5 separate regions of the Homo sapiens genome follow, and regions 2, 3, 4 and 5 are each linked to region 1. The links are contacts of gene promoters, found by promoter capture Hi-C in blood cells and fetal thymus (Javierre and others, 2016). All regions are on one chromosome and are shown on one strand. Each heading gives the region's core, a stretch centred on a gene start or on the middle of the fragment in contact. The rest is flanking DNA. Distances are from core to core; before and after follow the strand shown. Region 1 holds the start of FLI1 (Fli-1 proto-oncogene, ETS transcription factor). Region 2 overlaps ETS1 (ETS proto-oncogene 1, transcription factor). Region 3 overlaps ETS1 (ETS proto-oncogene 1, transcription factor). Region 4 overlaps KCNJ1 (potassium inwardly rectifying channel subfamily J member 1). Region 5 has its middle 32 kb from the start of KCNJ1.

Region 1 (2,805 bases), core at 163-2,662:
TTCGCCTCTGTGGACACCCTTTTGAAATTTTTTCTTCCAATTGACTTGGATCTCCTCTGGATTTTTTTTCCCTCTTTCCCCCGTCGGACTCTTAAATAAAAGTGAGCAAGTCCAAAGCGTGGTCCGGAGAGCGTGGACAAGGTAACCTGTTTTGGATGTCCGGGAGAAGGGAGTCCGGCCGAAAGGGCCCAGCCCCTCGAGGCTGCTCCAACTGGGGCGCGCGGCGGCCCAGGAGGGAGGCGGGGAGGTCTCCGGGTTGGGCCGGGGAACGCCGGCCTCCAGGCTGGGTAGGGAGGACGGTCCAGAGCGCGGGCCTCCGGGTCTCACCCCGGGAAAAGTCTGGGTCTGCTCTGCGCTGTTGCGTGCTGCGCTCCTGGGACCTGCTGACTGTCCTAGAGGGAACGTCCCGCGGTAGTGTCAGTTCCCTGGGGACCAGGAAGGGCGACTCTTGCCTGGGAGTCAGTGCTTGGGCCGTCGGGTCCGGGTAAGCGCTGGGGGTTTGGCTCGAGAAGATGCGGATAGGTGGCCTAGGGCGCCGCGGATCTCCGCCCTCTGCGGGCACCGGGAGCCCAGGGTCGAGGCGCGCCGCCCCGAGGGGCCCCTTCTCCTAACAATGCGCCCGGAATGGAGTCCGCGCCCTGACAGCGCGGGTCAGCCCGAAACCGCCCAGAATCCGCTTCGATGAGTGGGTGAGCCGCTCTGGGAGTCTGCCGCGTCTCGGCAGCGGAGGGCCTGAGTGGAAAAATTCTTATTGGATGCACTTTTTAATGGTTGGTTTGCCTCGGTTTTCGTCCGAGTCTTCCCCGGCAGTAGGCGCTGGGTTACCCGCAGCCCTAGCCAACTCTCCCTCCATACCCCCCCTACCCCACCCCCAAAAAGTTTGTCTCCGGCTGGAAAAAGCATTAATGAACGTATCTGTGGGAAGAAACGGAAAGTGAATGAGTCAGGAGGGCCACCTTCGGCCAACCGCCTCAGGAAAAGCAAAGAAGCCAAAGGTCTTTGGCTTTGGATTTTGGGGGAAGGTGATGGGGGGAGGTTCAGACTTCGGGAATCAGGGCGCGGACGCTGGGCGTGGACCCCGTCATTGTTCCCGGCTAGCTCTTATCTCCCAGGAGCAAGTATCCTGTGTGCGCAGCGCATGAATGTGTCTGGGCATCTCCGCGTATATTTATATAGTGTGTGATGCGAAAAGCAGGACCAGCAGGGGAGGAAGAGGGGGTGTGGGGGGGGAGGGAAGACGAGGGAGAGCAGAGGGGAGAGAAGAGAGAGGAGAGCTCGAGGCGAGAGAGAGAGAGAGAGAGAGAGAGAGAGAGAGAGAGAGAGAGAGAGAGAGATAGGACTTCCTCCCCGATTCGCAAAGTGAAGTCACTTCCCAAAATTAGCTGAAAAAAAAGTTTCATCCGGTTAACTGTCTCTTTCGCTCCGCTACAACAACAAACGTGCACAGGGGAGTGAGGGCAGGGCGCTCGCAGGGGGCACGCAGGGAGGGCCCAGGGCGCCAGGGAGGCCGCGCCGGGCTAATCCGAAGGGGCTGCGAGGTCAGGCTGTAACCGGGTCAATGTGTGGAATATTGGGGGGCTCGGCTGCAGACTTGGCCAAATGGACGGGACTATTAAGGTAAGCGGCGGGGCAACGGACGCGGGCGGCGGGGACCGGCCGGGGAGGCGAAGCGGCGGGCGGGTAGGTGCGGGGCCCGCGTCCCGGAAGACGTGGCCTCTCTCCCTTCCCTCCGCGCCCCGGCTTCGCGCCGGCTCCTCCGGCGCTCGGGTGGCGAGTCCTACTCGCGGGCCAGCCGGCCAGGCGCCCGCATTGAGGGCGACCCTCCCCCGAAATCCCAGCCCCCAAAGTGGAGCCCCGGCCCCCCTCCCACCTCGCTGCCCGCCGGGGCTGCAGGAGGGGACGGCGGGAAACCGGGGGACCCCAGGGTACGGAACGGAGTCAAGGGCGAGAGACCTCGGGGTCCACCACTCCCACCGACACCCGGGGCTCCCGTGGCCCCAGCGCTAGGCACTGGGCTTCCTCTCCGCAGAGGCGGAACACGGCGGGGGCGGGGGCTGCAGTCGCCCGGGCTCGGGTCCCTGCCTGGTGGGCCCTGGGGTGGGTAAGTGGCCTCGTTGCACGAGGGTAGGGGTGCAAGTGAGTGTGTCGGGGGATCTATCTGAGCGGGCTCCTCCAGATGGAAGCCCCTGTTTACATGTCAGCGCTTTCCCTTCCTCTCGGCACTCAGTCGCCCGGCTCTAGGCGCTGGAGAGCCGCCGGCTCCGCGGGACTCCTGGGCCGGCCTCGCCGCCTCTCCGGCGGGGAACCTTCCCCAGCCCCCGTCCGCACAGATCCCTAGCGCCCCGAGCCCCCGCCCTTCGCGCCTAGGCGTGCGCCGGCTCCAGGACCAGGGCTCCTGGAGCTGTCGCCTCCGAAAGGGTCCTGCGTCCTTCGGAGCCGCCTCCGTTGCAGGGGCCGGCTGTGAGCCCGCGCCCCGCGCCCGCCCGGCCATTCCCACCCCAGCCGCCGCCGCCAAGCCTGGGTCTAGGTTGCAAAGTGCAACCCAGGCGGAAAGGTGAGGGTTTGGGTTCGCGTCTCACTTCAGAAAAGTTGACTGCTGTCTCTGAAAGGGTTCGCCAAGTAGGGCCAGGAGCAGAGAGGAGGGACACCCCCTAACGTGACGGGCCTTAGAGGACCTAGGGGAATGAATGGGACCAGGGGTTAGCTTCGAGGCTGCCGCGCAACACCAAGCGGGAGTCTGTCTGGAAAAACTATTAGGCTGGCGAGGTGGGGACTGGCAGAGCCCGCCATTCCCCAGAACCCGAA
Region 2 (2,805 bases), core at 195-2,694, 230 kb before region 1:
AACAGAAGCAAATTAATTGCCTTACATCAGTTTCATGAGTTCTGATGTGACAATGTCACTTGCTAATGGGTCCACAACTCAAGACACTTTTTCATGGATGATTTTTAAAAATGATTGGACACATTAGTCTCTTTCTCTGTTAAGCCAGAGCCTTCAAGCTTCTGAGAAGGCCCTTCTCCCTCTCCTGAAAATTTGCTCAAGAATTTCTGGTCCCACCCACCCCACAAGTCCTGGCTTTCCTTTCCCAACTGCGCACAATTGATTACAGCTGCAACTGACTTAGCTCCCACCCCTGAAGGTAAAAAATGAGTTCTGGAAAATAAAAAATAGAATAACAATTCAAAATTCAGAGTCCAACCAACACGGCTGTCCTTGGAAGGTCTCAGCAGGGTTTCCCCAGCCCCTTCAGTGCCATCACTCGTCGGCATCTGGCTTGACGTCCAGCATGGCGTGCAGCTCCTCAGGGGTGTACCCCAGCAGGCTCTGCAGGTCACACACAAAGCGGTACACGTAGCGTTTCCCCGCTGTCTTGTGGATGATGTTTTTGTCGTAATAGTAGCGTAGGCCACGGCTCAGTTTCTCATAATTCATCTTAGGTTTGTTTTTCCTCTTTCCCCATCTCCTGGCCACCTGAAATTTAAAAAGAAAAATAAAGGAGGAGTAGGCAAAAATCTACAAGACAGGCCAAATATATATGTTTCTATGCCTATGCTATACCCATTCATGGTGACCCATGATGCTCAAGTAAGATGATTTGAGATTCATGTAGATATAGAAAATATTTTTCGGGCCTATCTCCTGAATTCCATTTTTCATGGGTTGGGCAAGGATGGGAGTCACAATGATTCTTTAAGTTGATGAAAACACAGTGACCCTGAACTAGGATTAAATATGTGACTTTAAAAAACAAACAAAAAGCCACACTATACATTCTCCTCTTTCCGCATATTATTAGTAAAATCTCCTTGCTTTGCAAGCATGAAATCTAACAGGGAAGTGTGAAGCGGAGGAGCTGAGCTGCAATCATACCTGCCTTTCATCAACAGGAAGTGTTTTTTTTCCATACCAGGGCACAAATATTTTCTCATGTCTGCCAGAACAAAGATGTTGTCTCTCCTGTTCATTGTTTTTTATCCTCAGAATTGGGCATGGCACGGAACCACTACTCCATAAACATGTGTGTAATGAAATAAGAAACTAATGAGCCAATCTCCCAAGGCCTCTTGAACTGTCTGGCCCCTTTCACACTCACAGAGCCACCGGGCTAGGAAGAGGCTAAGTCACAGGAGGCAGCTCTATGGGTGATAACTGACCTACTGCCAGGCACGTTAATGCCTTCTATCAGCTAATCCTGTAAGACAAATGGGGTAACATAGATCTTTTCTCTATTTTCCAAATAATGAACCTGGAGCTCAGACAGGCTACCTAGCTTGCTCCGGGTGGCAAGTGGCAGAGCTGGGAATCCCAATCCTGGAACACGTCATTCAGGCCCACGCCACCCCTTCCAGGAGTTTTCTCTCATCCTTCCTCAACACAGTACTCGCAAGCCCCTCCTTCCTTACCTCATCTGGGTCAGAAAGTTTGAATTCCCAGCCATCTCCTGTCCAGCTGATAAAAGACTGACAGGATTTATCAGTGAGTAATTCCAGAAGAAACTGCCATAGCTGGATTGGTCCACTGCCTAGAAACACAAGCCATTGTGAATCATTACACCAGATATTCAGCACTCTACGCAGCTAATCCCCACACACGGCACTCCCACATCCCTCTTCTCTCAGCCCATCCAGCCAGGAGAAAATGAAGGCAACAGACAGTGCACATGTCGGAGGAAGTGTTATGAGCTCGAACAGATAGAAAAGACAAAGGCCTCCCTATAAAACAAAAGCATGGAAGAAAATGTGTCAAGTGCTTTATTTTGATTAACTTAAGGATCGGTTCATTTTTATTGCTAAACAAATTCTAGAAAGAGAACACTGTGCCTATCCTCTGGGATATTCTAAGGCAGCATAATCTTTTACACCTGCAAAAACTAAGTCATTATTTTTGCCTTCAGAAGTAAGAAACATATTAACGAAGGAATGAATGTCTTTGCCAGTTCCAAACACAAGTTATGGCTCATAAGCACTGCTCTGTAGTAGGGAGCCTGTGGCCCCTGATTTGTGAGTAAGAAGGATCACTATCCTCCGGCCCTCTTACAAGGAAATAGATGTTAAATATCTGTTCAGTCATAATATTTCTCTCCACTGCCACCACCCTGCCCTTCCAGTCCACTTACAGGAAAGCACCCAAAGGAAAAAAAAAAAAAAGCATCATTACTATTTGAGGAATTAACGTGCCACCCAGAAAATCCTCAGGGGTCAGATGAGGACTGTCAGAAATTCTGCATAGGTTCAGTATATTCTAAATTAGACACACACACACACACACACACACACACACACACACACACACTTCTCTGTCTTAGCCATCAACACTCTGACAGTCAATTTATTCTATGCTAAAAGGTTTATATCACACCGATTTCCTTTGAGGATACTTTTCTCATCTGAAATGACAATGCCACCAGTGATTCTTAATTTATAGGTGTCGGTGGAGAGACAAATAGGGGTTCAAAAGTCCATGCTTCTTGTTACACTGCCCCTTATAACATAAACAAACTGGGCAGAGCGGGACTGGGAAAGACCCAGTCCATGTCTCTGGATACAGCCCAGGAAGCACCAGCTCCTACAGGAAAGCTTTGCTCACTAAGGCTCTAATTTTTCACCGGAGTTGCAAATTTGTCTGATCCAAAGTAAACTGAGATTT
Region 3 (2,805 bases), core at 150-2,649, 190 kb before region 1:
ATCTGCCAAAACCCAAGCTGCGTTTTAATTGTCATTTATGGGCCTCTAAATTAACGACACTCAAGCAATTTAAAAGGAAGTTTTAGCTATTGAGATTATGATTCCTGTGTGCAAGGACCACCTCCATAGGGTACATTAAAGAATCATTTAAGCTTCTTAAATGATCATTTCAAGCCATTTACAAAGTACTTCACATGTTTCAAAGCATTTCCTGCATAGATAATTACACCTGACTCCCACCACATGACATACTTTATAGTTCCTAAATGTCCCAGAACAGTGTGACTTCTTTATCTGAAAAACACAGAGCCATGGTCTCTACATTACTCAGGAGGAAAGAATGAGTTGGGCTCTTTCGTCTCCATGGCTTTGCAGAGAACCACATTGCATCCTATTGGTTCTTCCCACATCTTACACTTCTGAATGAGGAAAACTCCTGCCCTGCCTTCACTAAAATTCTCATGACAGGATCATACGGCTTTTGGTACCAACATGACATAGGATAACCCCATCCAGGAAGACAATGGAGAATATCTGACAACTACATCTTGCTATAATCCCAGCTTCCACTAATTCTGGTTTACATAATAGCCTTTGAGGCCTCATCCTCTGAGATCTTGCAGATGCTGATGAATTGGGCTAACCAATTTATTTTAATTTCACTTAACTCCCACCTATAATTATCATTCCTGCTATTTGACTAGAACTGTATCTTTTAGAAAGCATTTTCTTGAATATTCTCATATGATTTTTCAAAACAAGCACTTGTAGTTATTATCTTTATCATGTAGGTGAGGAAACTGAGGCTCACAAATGTTTCTTAAGTGACTTAACTAAGATTATCAAACCAGTAAAGTGATATAACAAGGATTCAATCCCACATCTTCAGACACGCAAGCCACGTGTTTTCTCCCTGCACCTATTCACAGAATTAAAAGCAAATGAGGCAAAAATGATGGGGCATGATAACATTTCTTTTTTCATTTTCTCCAACATTTTCATTCTAGAAAAAGCTCTTTCTGTAGCAGGGAAGAACCTCAATCCCCGAGACTCTCTACCGACAGCAGGCTCCATTGCACGTCCTACCCAGAACTGGCCTGGTCAAACCTCGGCTCGGGGCCCACTTGGCACTTGGTCGGGGGGTAAAACAGGCATCGGGAGAGTGGTGCTGAGAATCACCAAGAAGGCCAGGCTGGGCAAGGTGTACGATGAGGAGTTTTCTCCATGGGCAAATGAAAAATCTGGGCAAACAAATGGAGTAGAGCCCGTTTATTTAGGCTGGAAGAGGTAAAGTTTTTCTGCACTTTTGAACTGTTTTCTCAAGGCCTGCCTCTCCCTCCCACGCAGGAAACAAACACAGAGACAGGCCTCTTCCAGTGAGGGCTTCAGTTGTTCAAAGTTAGCCCGGGAAGGGCAGAAGGAAGAAAGGCTTAGAGAAAGGAAGGAGGAACGGGGGCTAGGAAGGTGGTGCAGTGGCCATGGGGGTAGCCGCCAAGGGAGAAGGCTGGAGCTGGGATCAGACAGAGGAGGAGAGCTGGCCAAGAAGGGAGGAGAGAGGGAAGAAAGCAGGAAGCAGAGAAAGGGAATATTGGAAAATTGTAAACCAGAACAAAGAAACAGAATGCAGAGTGGCAATGGCCTGGGAAGAGGCAACAACCGACTCCCAATTAATGATGTTCAGAAAGCAACATTTTTTCATCAATTTTGAAAGGAAATTCTCTCTCAACTTTCTTATTTATTTATACATTATATAAATACATTTTTAAACCAAAAAAGGACCGTTTTTCCAATGGGAAAAAGTCTTGTTTGAGATGAAAGCCAGTCTTCAAAAACTTCTTAGAGGAAGCTGAAACCCCACATGTCTCGGTGCTACAGAAAGAAAAACAAAGTGGACATTCTTCCTGCGTTCTAAGGCTTTTTTATGCAGATGTGTTTTTCTTTTAATAAATAAATCTGGACTGAGAAGGAAAAAGCATACTCATACACATTCACACAGTGCAACTGTCTGTTTTCAACCCAGGGAAACCACAATGAAAAATAAGAATACGCAAGTCCATTTTCCCAGTACATCAGACAAGGATTCTCAATATTGGCAGCCACAGGCACTGAAGCAACACAGTATGCGTGCACACCCTGCTCCAGCTTCCAGATCCACAGAGGAGTACTTGATGATGAGTGGTCATGAGGGGCAGGGCAGGACCTGAAGAACGACCACCATACTTCCCCAGAAGTCTTCTCACTTAAGACATTTGGTTGCCCCATCCTTTTTGAGCTACACAATTTCACTTATAAGCCAAAATGATTATTTAAAAATGATTAGACACAACGAGTTTAAATCTGCCTTCTTATGAATTCTATCAATAGGCCCTTGCTTTGCTTGTTGAGAGATCAGCAGCACAAAGCAAATTTGTCCTTATCTGGCAGCTTTTCCCCTGCTTTCTTCCTCCTATCATCACTTCCGTCCAGGTTTCCAAACTCCGTGGTTCCTTCAACCATTCATGTTGGCATGGTTTTTGGCCACTCCCCTCGCTCCACCTAGAAGCATTCCTCTAAGCCTATGTTCCTGAAGAGCATCACAAGCATTCATAGGTGAACATCGTGCTTCTCAGAAGTTAAATGGGAACAATGAGATGATCATCTTACTCCATAAGCTTTGACTGGTGCAGACTAAGACAACACTGATCTAACAGCCTAACTACAAAAGCCACTCAAAGGACATTGCCAGGACCTCTCCATAGAAAGTGATACTGAACCAGTTCTGTACCTATTGACTGAATTTTATTAACTTCACAACAGGGCTTCACA
Region 4 (2,805 bases), core at 143-2,642, 160 kb after region 1:
CAGTGCCAGAGGGCAGGTCTGTGGGATGGGAGGAAACTCACAGGGTCCCTCCTACTGCACCAGCCAAGCAAGAGCTCCTTCTCTCGGCTCTCCTGGGAGCTCGGTTTCTTTTCTCCCTCTTTCTCCTTCTTTCAGCACATCTTTTGTTTGAATGTTTTTGAGCATTTTATTCCTTGCCCATAGCCCTTGTTGTATTCCTGGAGTCAGCAGCGCGGATGTTCCAATTCCCATTTGAGCCAGCCCCTCCAGAGACTCAGCATGACCTCGCAGACAAGCCAGAGGCCCACGGGCCCATTCAAAACCCCGCCTTGCCCCACATTTCCCCCGTGCCACTACTTACCTCTGCTCCCCACCCCACACCACATACACCAAGGAGAGAGAGGGATGGAACGTGACTGGGATGGGGACCTTGCTGCTTTCTTGGGTGACAACAGGGCACAGAGTTGTGTTGAGTCTACATTCAAGGACTCACGGGAGAATGACAGAAACCTCCCACTGTGCATGTCCAGAGGCTGGGCCCTTTCTCAAAGGCAGGGCTGGATGTTCCTTGCGTACTTCCTGAATAAGGGCCACTATCAAGAGCTACAAAGAATGTCCCCAACCACCACCTCTCAACATCCTAATCTGGATTAGCACAAATCGTAATGATCTGTTTGATGACACACCTGCAGGGCCAAACCTAGATCTTCTTAAGTATCATAGATGCACGATGGGTTTGGGGAAAGAAACTGAAGCCCCTGGTGTGCTATGAGTACTAACTCCTATGAAAAGAAACAAGGTGGTCTAGCTGGAGCGCACGTGCAGGCTCCCCACTGAGTCTCTGGCCTTGAAACACGTATCTGGAGTCAGGCTTGAATTCCAGCTCTGCAGCTTACTGGTGCATGACCCAGCAGCTCACCTGGGGATTTTACAGAGCTAATTTCTCAATGTAATCGATTAAGCCTGGAAAACAAACAAAAAATAGTTGCTAAGAAACGTAAGGAGCAGTAAAAACCCTGGAGCTCATTGTGAGCTGTTTACGGTTTTTCTTTCCTTTTCTTTTCTTTTTTGTTGTTTTGGACATACTGTCTTCCTGATTCACTTTTCTTACCCTCCCACATTTCCAATAATTGTACCCATTTTCAGTGATGGGTTTATTCTTTTTCCCCAACATCATTTGAGTCCTGACCTTTCCCACCTTGCCAAGGTCCCCTGAGCTTCACTGGAGCAGATGGAGAAAAGAGGATAGAAGGAAGCCCTCTAGGAATTGTGATGAGATTGACAACTGGGCTTAGTACTAACCAAAATGCTGGCTCCCTGGCACCCAGAGGGTGTGAGGTCCAAGCTGTGATCAGCATTAAGATTGAAGACATTATTGCAAAGAGGCAGCAAATGAGGTTGGCAAAGCAAAGATGGGGCTCCACAGGTGCCTTGAAAATAGTGAGGGGATAGGCTATAAGGCGGTGTAGAGCTGGGCTTAAACGTCACCTCTTCCACTTGTTATCAGAGTGAGTTATTTGGCTTCTCTAAACCTGAACGTTCTCCTCCATGAACATGGAAATAAGGAAATCTGTTTCCCAATGCTGAGATAGGATTAAGTGTGGGAAGGCCCAGTAGAGGATCTGGTATGGGGAAAGCCACAATAAATGCCAGGCTCCTTCCTTGTTTAGCAGGGCTGAGGGGCTCTGATGAAGAGATCAGGACTGGGACAGCCAAAGGCTGAGTTGGCACTTGGGGAAATCAGTTTTAACTCCCAGGTCTGGATTTGGGCAGGCAGCTCTCACCTGCCAGACCCAAGGACGGTACCACTGTGCCTGTGTGAGCTGCAGAGGAAATGCAGGAAGGATGCATAGTCCTGCTCGGGGCTCTTGCCAGGTCTTGGGAAGTCTTCTTTCTCCCTCCCCTCATCCCCTCCTGGAGCCTCTTAAAGAAGGTTCTCCCACCAGAACTTCCGGGCGGGAAAAGACAGCAGGCTCTGAGCTGCTTTCAAGGGGCCTGTCAGAAGCATCTTTGTGTACATGAGGCCCAGAGGGAGAAGACTGTTTATCCGGCTGCTAGGGACAAATTAATGAAGTGGTGAAAGGCTGTGGATCAGAGAGAAAAAGATTGCCCATGGAATGATGAGATTAGGTTAGACGAGAAGGATGCAATTGTGCCAGACCAACTGAATTTCCTCTGAGGTTAGCACGACCAGCCTTCCAGACCCGGAGGCAACCAGGGCACAGGGCTTGGTGATGGATGCCTGGCGTGATCCTTTCTCTGGAAGCTCTTGGCCAGGGTTGCAGGTACCATGGCCACCAGGCTGGGGTGAGAGGTGCATGTGCACCCTCAGAGTGCAGGGCAGAGAGAGGACCGCAGAAGAGGGAGCAGGGGAGGGGCAGCTCCACATGTGATGTACGCTGGGACAGCACATCTGGGCATAGGCATCTTGGACTGAAATTCCTACTCTAAAAAAATGTCCTAGCACCATCTTCTTTTCCTTCTTAGCACTGAATACAACTGATTTCATGTTGGTTTTGTTCAATTCAGATCATCCTCAGCCCTGTCAATGGCACACCCACCCCCGAGTCAAGCAAAACCTTGATTCACCCTTAATTCTTTTCTTCCTCTCACCTCACACGCAATCCATCAGCAAATCTTGTCTGCTCTTTCTACACAATATAGTCAGGACCTGTCTGTCCTCTTCTCTTCATCTCCTCTGCTTGCCAGGCCACCATAATTCCTTGGTTGGGCTACAAAACTCGCCTGCTCCTTGATCTGTCCACCGCCTCTTTCTCCTCATAATAGAGTCCACACCGTCAGAGTGAGGAAGGAGTCCTGAAAATC
Region 5 (2,805 bases), core at 148-2,647, 140 kb after region 1:
CCAGCAGGGTAGGCAGAATCAGCCCTAGAGTCACCCTGCAAAGAGAGGGAAGCTTTCAGGAAGGCAAAACAGAAAAGGCCACCATCTCTCAGGCTCAAAACTGCACAGCAGGGGCCTCTGGAGCAAGATCCCAGCAACTACTGCAAGAGCACCCACGAAGGTGAGGGAGGGTGTCGCATAGATGTTGGTATTATCAGCACTTATCCCTACACAGTGATCTGCAGAACATTCTATTAGGTGAAGAAAACCCTGCAGAATGGTGTTTCTAGAGTGTTACCTTTTGTGTAAGAATGGAGCAGCATGTAAATACTAACATGTCACATATGCATTGCTTACATCTTTCACAAAGAAACCGCCACAGGATACAACATAATAAAGATGCTTACCCTTTATAGAACGGGAAGAAATAGAGTGGAGGGCACAGGAATGGAAGCATGTTTTCTAAACCCTGTTCTGTGGTTTTGAAATTATATAAATTCCTTGCATAATTCATAAAAGAAATGGCGAAATCAAAAAAGGAAAACAATAAACAGACTTTAACGATTGCAAATAAATGGAAACAAATGAACCTATGTCCAGTTGGTACCTAATCACACGGAGAAAAGAACTACTTCAAGTGACTTTATCACTGTGTTGATTGTACATTGTTATATAAAGAATATCTATAGGATGGATGATTTAAAAATGTTTAATCCCAAATACTTTTAAGACTGTAATCAATAGTCTTATTGTTAGCAGTGGAGTCAATATTGTTTTTGCTGAAACTATTATAAGCACATGGCATAAGACAATAAAAAGATTCTCCCCGACATCAGCAGTTTTCCAGTTTAACTCTCGTCCTCTGAACTGGCTGGAGCTCTGGGATCTTTTCTGCAGTAGGCAGGACCCTTGCTTCCTCTTTTTTGCCTCCCCAGTGCCTGGCTCACAGTAAACCCAAAATAAGCATCTCTTGAATTGAAGACAAACCCAAAGCACCAGGATTCTACTCAAATCCCCCCAACTCATAGCCTATCCCAGCTGGGACAGACCCCTGCAGGCACTGTTCTTGTCCCCCAGGCCTCCACTGGTCTCCATCAGGCCCTGCCCTGGGCTCTGCTTTCTTTGCCCTTGAAGCACCAGGCGCAGGGTTTGCTCTGGGACCAGTGTCCTCCCCTTCATTCCTCACCTTCAAACCCATTGCTCCCACCTCATGTTGCCATATGCACAGCCATTTACTTTCAACAGATGGATTTTTCACATCCATTATTTCATTGAATCCCCTCCTTAACTCTATTACAAAACTCCATTCTACAAATAAAGAAACTGGGGCTTAATGAAGTTAAGTCATTTTTCCAGGCCCCTTGACTAATGACTGGTCAATGACATAGGTCAGTCAAAAGCTCATTGGACAGATGTGGGTTTGAATCCACTACTAGCCATGTAGACCTTGAGCAAATCATTCATTGGTTTATTTTATTCATTATAACCATGTATGGATTGTGTGAGGAACTCTGCTGGTGCTAGGAATACAGAGGTGAGTAGAGAACACAGGGGCTGTTCTCCAGGGAGAATGGAGGCTCCACTTCCCATGTCAAAATGGAAATAATATCTGCCTCTACATCAAAGACTGAAATATAAATATGTGTGTGTGTATGTGTATACATACATATGCACACACATAGTTTTTAATTATATATATATAATTAGTATATATATTTAGTGTTTGTGTATATTTAGAGAGAGAAGTATGTGTATTAGTATTAGGAAGATACTTTGCACCAATGGGCTAATCAAATCTTCAGGACACCCATGATACTTCCGTATACTGACCTGGTGGATGACCTAGAGCTCATGGGAAAAGACTGCCTTTTCCTAGAACCTGCAATTCCAGAGATGTTCGTTCAGCACTCGCCAGGGCTCTGTCTTGTGCTGAGCAATGAGTGGTTTCTCCCAAAGTATAAGACGCATCCCAAGAGCATGCGCCAGTCATCCGTGGGTTTCAGGGAAGTGTGCGATGGCCCTGGGGAATCTGCTCAGAGGATGGTCCCTCCTAGGATGTCGACGAGGGATTTTAAACTCATGGGCTTTCAAAGCGGACTGCCCGGGGTTTGCATGCCAGCCCTGCCATTTTCCAGGTAATGTCTCTGGACACCTTCCTTACCTTAGCTGCCTCAAGTGGAATAAAGGTATAATCATAGTCTTGACCTCATAGGATTGTTGGGAAAATTACATGAGGGACTGCATATAAAATGCTGTAAACAGAACCTCGGACATGGTAACAACGTAGTAAATAACTCCTAGTAAATAACTTTCTTCTGCCACTGCACAAGCCTTGGGGTTTCCCACTTGTCTGAAGGATACCGATGTCTTCCAGAACACCCAAGCAGTCGAGAGTGCGCTGGGTAGAGACGCACCCCAGCTCCTGGCCCCTGCAACCGGTGGTGCAAATCTCCCTCTCCAAGGGGCTCAGCTCCAAGGAGTCCAGCTGGGTGCATCTGGCTGGGGAGATTAAATTATTTTTGAATTCCTAACTGAATGTTCTTTTAATGGAAACTTAATGACAGGCATTGAAATAGATTTCCTCCATAACCCCTCCTCCCACCCCCCACGGCTCTGCCTTGCGCAGTTCCCGATAACCTTTATTCCCTGCCCCTGGACTTTTATCTCCCCAATGACAAACAGCCCTTGCCGGACAGAAAGAGGAAATTCCAGTCATTGTTCTCAAACTTCTGGCTTCCAAAATAAAATGCTCTATCTCCCCTGTCAAGCTTTGATTGACACACACTTCCTGTAATGGCAGGCAACAACGGCCCAGGGGCGGGGCCG

The links. The method cuts DNA at HindIII sites, captures the fragments that hold promoters and counts their contacts. A CHiCAGO score of 5 or more calls a contact.
Region 2: a contact is called between a fragment that was not itself captured here and the fragment with the promoter of FLI1 in region 1, in 5 of 17 cell types (total B cells, activated CD4 T cells, naive B cells and 2 more). The highest score is 7.8, in total B cells.
Region 3: a fragment that was not itself captured here is called in contact with the fragment with the promoter of FLI1 in region 1 in 5 of 17 cell types (activated CD4 T cells, total CD4 T cells, total B cells and 2 more); the score reaches 7.9 in activated CD4 T cells.
Region 4: a fragment that was not itself captured here is called in contact with the fragment with the promoter of FLI1 in region 1 in 1 of 17 cell types (megakaryocytes); the score reaches 7.4 in megakaryocytes.
Region 5: a contact is called between a fragment that was not itself captured here and the fragment with the promoter of FLI1 in region 1, in 1 of 17 cell types (megakaryocytes). The highest score is 6.6, in megakaryocytes.

The regions. Positions count from the first base shown.
Region 1 is chr11:128,692,660-128,695,464 of GRCh38, forward strand. It overlaps FLI1 (Fli-1 proto-oncogene, ETS transcription factor), which reads left to right and starts at 1,413. Exons shown (of 9, transcript NM_002017.5): 1 at 1,413-1,617. The coding sequence starts at 1,600. SENCR (smooth muscle and endothelial cell enriched migration/differentiation-associated lncRNA) reads right to left here. Exons shown (of 3, transcript NR_038908.1): 2 at 1-732. RefSeq lists silencers at 472-521, 542-681, 1,365-1,734, 1,955-2,004, 2,045-2,264 and 1 more and a cis regulatory region at 901-1,633. The HindIII fragment of the contact is 9,137 bases long and covers 1-2,805 here.
Region 2 is chr11:128,461,947-128,464,751 of GRCh38, forward strand. ETS1 (ETS proto-oncogene 1, transcription factor) reads right to left here. Exons shown (of 10, transcript NM_001143820.2): 9 at 1,563-1,681; 10 at 1-630. The coding sequence ends at 415. Among named protein-coding and RNA genes, the nearest start is that of MIR6090, 59 kb to the right of the region's middle. The HindIII fragment of the contact is 2,577 bases long and covers 157-2,733 here.
Region 3 is chr11:128,498,657-128,501,461 of GRCh38, forward strand. The region is part of intron 3 of ETS1 (ETS proto-oncogene 1, transcription factor); the gene reads right to left. Among named protein-coding and RNA genes, the nearest start is that of MIR6090, 22 kb to the right of the region's middle. The HindIII fragment of the contact is 2,499 bases long and covers 151-2,649 here.
Region 4 is chr11:128,854,146-128,856,950 of GRCh38, forward strand. All of the region lies in intron 1 of KCNJ1 (potassium inwardly rectifying channel subfamily J member 1), which reads right to left. Among named protein-coding and RNA genes, the nearest start is that of KCNJ1, 12 kb to the right of the region's middle. The HindIII fragment of the contact is 4,573 bases long and covers 1-2,805 here.
Region 5 is chr11:128,833,508-128,836,312 of GRCh38, forward strand. No RefSeq gene overlaps it. Among named protein-coding and RNA genes, the nearest start is that of KCNJ1, 32 kb to the right of the region's middle. The HindIII fragment of the contact is 2,695 bases long and covers 51-2,745 here.